Linked DNA regions of Homo sapiens: region 2 is linked to region 1. Evidence: promoter capture Hi-C in human tissues and cell types (Jung and others, 2019). All regions are on one chromosome and are shown on one strand. The core of a region is centred on a gene start or on the middle of the fragment in contact, and the rest is flanking DNA. Distances in the headings are between cores, read along the strand shown.

What was found. Contacts are between HindIII fragments. The study calls those that stand out against the background at their distance.
Region 2: a contact is called between a fragment that was not itself captured here and the fragment with the promoter of MLANA in region 1, in 2 of the 25 tissues and cell types used here (heart left ventricle and mesenchymal stem cells).

The regions. Positions count from the first base shown.
Region 1 is chr9:5,889,569-5,892,268 of GRCh38, reverse strand. It overlaps MLANA (melan-A), which reads right to left and starts at 1,380. Exons shown (of 5, transcript NM_005511.2): 1 at 1,333-1,380. It overlaps LOC124902341 (small nucleolar RNA U13), which reads right to left and starts at 2,119; the gene lies at 2,013-2,119. It also overlaps a transcript of BRD10 not described here. The HindIII fragment of the contact is 14,558 bases long and covers 1-2,700 here.
Region 2 is chr9:6,030,620-6,033,319 of GRCh38, reverse strand. No RefSeq gene overlaps it. Among named protein-coding and RNA genes, the nearest start is that of RANBP6, 16 kb to the right of the region's middle. The HindIII fragment of the contact is 4,860 bases long and covers 1-2,700 here.

The DNA.
Region 1 (2,700 bases), core at 131-2,630:
GCTCAGGTTTCTAACCCCTCCTACTAACTGAAAATTAAGTTCAAAGAAGAAACTACAAACAAAAGCAAAAAAGACTTGCAAGTTGAGTTATTATTTGGTGAAAAAATATTCCTCATTTGCCTTCAATTTGACTCTGCACCATAAACTTCTAGAGAAACAAACAAAATGCATTTTCACTGATTCTCCACCTTCCCTGGCCCAGGGCTGTGGCTAACAAAATTAGAGGAGTTATTTTTCTCCAAAGTTATTGTTGGATATCAATCCCACAGACAAACAGAGGCTATGATACATAACGTGTGTTTCCCAGAGCACCCGTTGCCTGTGCCTCGCGAGGGTGCATGAGGTTGAGCACTGAGCACAACATCTTCCAGCCCAGCTTTTCAGCAAAGGAAACCACCCCACACAGGGGCTTCAGCCTGTCCCCAGGCACTCCACCCAAAACAAGCCGAGGAAGCCCAGGACCTGACTTTATCTAACAATGTGTTTCCCTTCCTACTTAAGTCAATTTCTGCTTCTCTCTGGTTCAAGTCCCTTGGCTAGGATTCTTTTTTTTTCTAACTATAACACATACAAATGAACAACAAAAAATATCCATAAACTGCAGTGGCCGTAATTCAAGTACGCTCATTAAAAACCAATAATGGAAGCTCCTTTCCTTATTATTGTGTATTTTTCTGCTCTCTTACTGTCCTCATGAATTTCAAAGGTGTGATCCCCATAGAATTATATTAATGAGCCCCAGTTTAAAACAACAGGGAGAGGTGAGACAGAAGAGTGGGGATTTCGACACATGACCCCTTTCCACTGGGACATTTTATGTGTAATTTGCCCTTCCCAGTTGTAAAAAAGAAATGAAAGTCAAACTCACCAGTCCTCTCAAGTGAATAATATAGGACTGAACCCTGTGTTCAAAATGACAGAATGGAATCTTAATTCTTCATTAAATTGTTTTAATACATCCCATACCTCAAACTCAGAGCCTTGGCAAATGGTGCAGCAACAGCAAATGCGCCTCTTACTACTCAGACCAGGAGAAGTGGTTCTTTAAGTGACAGGAGAACACATCTACCTCAGGGAGGCTGCTTCTCCCCAGCAAGATGCCATCCTGAATAATTGCTTTTCTTCTTGGTAGTGTTGGAGGACTGAGAGAGGATTCAGGAGGAGGCTTTGTGAGCCCTCTGAGGTTGGAGACTGACAAACGTTGCGGAGAAATTCTGTTGATGTCACACATCAGCGGGGCAATGAGGGTAGGCAGAGGACTTAGCCAGAATTTCCCAAATCCTATTCTGGGAGAAGAGGACTATGATTATGGCGAGAAGGCAACGCTCTTACCTTCCTTAATGAGAGTCCTCTGTCTGCTGGCTGGCCGCGTGTATGAAGACTGCTTCTCTGGCTCTTAATCGTTTTGACTTATTTTTTTTCCTGGTTTTGAGTCCCATGATAGTCACGGGTTTAGATTTCTGACGGGGTCGTCTGTAATTGCTAAATTGGCATGAAAGAAACCAACTTTATTCCTTCCTTCAAAAAGTCACAGCTGACTGTGGCCTCTGTTTTCCCCAGTCCCAGTGCTCTATCCTAGGGAAGCCATTTATTTTAAATGTTGGTCCCTCCTCCATAGGATTGCCATGTCACATAAAATATGACATGAGCCTAGTTATAATGATTTAAAATTCATGGTCCGACACCACAATTACTTTTGCACCAACCTAATTGATGTCTAAGTAGGTCATATTCTACCTGCAAAAAGAAAATTTCATCTATCCCTTTCACATAGATGGAAACCCACTATCTCCAGTGGACAGTTAACACCAAAGGCATCACAGAGAACTCATGGAGCTCAGCTGAGGAGGATGCCCAGTTAAATTTGAACTTCAGATAAACAATGAACAGTTTCTTAATACAACTATGTCCCATACAATATTTTTAGGATAAATATGTCCACATATTCTATGGGACATATACACTAAAAGAGTTATTTTTTGTTTATCTGAAATCCACATTTGTTTTTCTCATGTCAGATAGGTAAGGTGCCCATGTCATTGTAACAAGGTTTGAGGGAGGCATATCTCACACGTGAACATGGAAACCCAATCATCACGCTTATGACCCACAAAAGGATCTGAAATCCAAACTAAACTGGGTTCCCTATTCCCTCCCTCATCTCCATCTCAAAGGGTTGAAGAGTCTTTAGGCACAGGTCTGGAGAGCATCTAGTCCCAGACTCTCATAATCAAGAAAAGGAAATAGAAAAATCCCTGAAACCTCCTCAGCTGAGCTCCATGAGTTCTCTGTGATGCCTTTGGTGTTAACTGTCCACTGGAGATAGTGGGTTTCCATCTATGTGAAAGGGATAGATGAAATTTTCTTTTTGCAGGTAGAATATGACCTACTTAGACATCAATTAGGTTGGTGCAAAAGTAATTGCGGTGTCGGACCATGAATTTTAAATCATTATAACTAGGCTCAAACACATTTTTTTTTTCTGAGATGGAGACTCACTCTGTCGCCCAGGCTGGAGTGCAGTGGCAGGATCTCAGCTCACTACAACCTCTGCCTCCCAGGTTCAAGCAATTCTCCTGCCTCAGCCTCCTGAGTAGCTGGGACTACAGGTGCACGCCACCACACCTGGCAAATTTTTGTATTTTTAGTAGAGACAGGGTTTCACCATGTTGGCCAGGATGGTCTCGATCTCCTGACCTC
Region 2 (2,700 bases), core at 71-2,570, 140 kb before region 1:
CCTCATCCAAATCCTTCATGCCAGGACTAGCAATTGTTTTGCTTTTGACTTGTCACATACTAAATTCTTATGATAGTTGGGATTTACTTTTGAAATCTATTTTATTACATTCTCCATGGATTTGATTTAATAACTACTGATTTGGATTGTTTCCATTTTGTAAAACAGTGTCTGATATTGGTACTCTAGCATAAAAATTAAACATAATTTAGCCAAGTGTGGTGGTGCATGCCTACAGTCTCAGCTACTCAGGAGGCTGAAGTGGGAGGATCATTTGAGCCCAGAGTTGGAAGCTACAGTGAGCTCTGATTGTGCCATTGCACTCCAGCCTGGGCAATAGAGTAAGACTGTCTTTAAAAATAAATAAGTAAAATAAACACATTAATATTTTTGGTGTCTGACCTTTTATTTTTCAAAGTAATTTCTTTATCAGTGTGTCATCAACTTCTATAAAATCCTAAAGAGCCTTTAATAAAAGGCTCTTTTTATTAAAGAATAGTGCTTTAACTGGTACATTAATATGAAAAGTGTTATTTCTATTGCATTTAGCCTTTAACATTAGAAGCAAATTATGACTCTTTTACTCATTTATTTTCTTCCTAAAATTTCAAAATAACCTTTTCTTTCCCCCAAATTCAGTTATCCAAGTATTTGTTTCATTGTACTTCATAAAATTATTTTACTTTGGGAGGCCAAGGCAGGTGGATCAGGAGGACAAGAGATCGAGACCACCCTGGCCAACATAATGAAACCCCACCTGTACCAAAAATACAAAAATTAGCTGGGCATGGTGGTGCTCACCTGTAGTTCCAGCTACTTGGGAGGCTGAGGCAAGAGAATAGCTTGAACCTGGGATGCGGAGGTTGCAGTGAGGCGAGATCACGCCACTGCACTCCAGCCTGGCGACAGAGTGGAACAACAACAAAAAAAATTATTGTATTCCCTAAGCCTGGGTCAATAGAAAATAGGAAATGCTATCGATTTTTGAGTATTTACCTTATCCTCTCTCTCTCTATCTATCTATATATTTTTTTTCTTTTTTTTGAGACGGAGTCTCGCTCTGTTGCCCAGGCTGGAGTGCAGTGGCGCGATCTTGGCTCACTGCAAGCTCCACCTCCCGGGTTCACACCATTCTCCTGCCTCAGCCTCCCAAGTAGCTGGGACTACAGGTGCCCACCACCCACGCCTGGCTAATTTTTTTTTTTTTTTTGTATTTTTAGTAGAGACAGGATTTCACCGTGTTAGCCAGGATGGTCTCCATCTCCTGACCTCATGATCTGCCCACTTCAGCCTCCCAAAGTGCTAGGATTACAAGCGTAAGCCACCATGCCTGGCCCTTATCCTCTATATTTTTATCTAACTGTTATCTCTAGTGCTTTTAGCTAAACATACATGTCACATTAAAAAGTGACAACAAGGCCAGGTGTGGTGGCTCACGCCTGTAATCCCAGCACTTTGGGAGGCCGAGATGGGCAGATCACGAGGTCAGGAGTTAGATACCAGCCTGGCCAACATGGTGCAACTCTGTCTCGGGCACCTGTAATCCCAGCTACTCGGGAGGCTGAGGCAGGAGAATCCTTGAACCTGGGAGGCGGAGGCTGCAGTGAGCCAAGATCATGCCATTGCACTTCAGCCTGGGCAACAAAAGTAAAACTCCATCTCAAAAAACAAAAAAAAATTTAAAAAAAAGTGACAGTGATTTTTATTTTCCTATGATTAGACTGTCTCCTTCTCTGTTCTATCTAAAGAACTTTTGACAGCACTTCTAGCACAGTCTTTCCTCGAATGGTAACAGGAGTGTGTCTCATTTTGTTACTGTTTTAAAAGACAATGACTATTAATCAGAGTTATGGAAATAACCACCAGAAAATGTAAAAACAGAAAAGTTTAAAAGCAGCTGATTTTGAGGAGAGGACTCAGGGTTGGAAGATATGGAACCAGGAACCTCTGCTTTTCATTACATTCTGTGCTGTACTATTTGATTTTTAACATGCTCACTGTTACTTTAATTTTCAAAATGTAAAAGTATTATAAAAGAATGGCCGGGCATGGTGGCTCACGCCTGTAATCCCAGCACTTTGGGAGGCCAAGGAGGGTGGATTGCTTGAGCCCAAGACTTCAAGACCAGCCTAGGCAACCCCATCTCTTAAAAAAAAAAAAAAAGAATGACTATACTACAGTGGTTCTAAGAATCAACTGAGAACCTGAGATGCTAGTTAAAAATTCAGATTCAAAAATTTTTTCAGTAGCTCAGGGTGGAAGCTAGAGATTTGCATTTTCAACAAATGTTCTAGGTGATCCTGTTTCAGGTGGTCAGGGGATCAGACTTCGAACAGCAGTGCTGCAGTGTTTTTCTATTATTTATGATGGTTTGTTTTTAAATACAGGACTTTTAAAAATTCATTTTTAAAGAAATTATTTTAAATGAATTTTACAATTCATTCTAAGACTCTTCATTTATAAAACACCCTTTATATTTCATTTTCATTGACTTTTAATTTGATTAAATGCTTTTTGGTATCTATTGCTATGTTCACATGATTCTTACTATTTTTCCTGCTAATGTAATAAATTACATTATTGCCTTTCTTTATATTTTACTGACCTTAGATTATAAATTATAAACCTTGATTAGAAAATATATTAGCACAAATTAGCATACTGGGATAATATTTCTATATTCTAAAATCATTTTTTGCT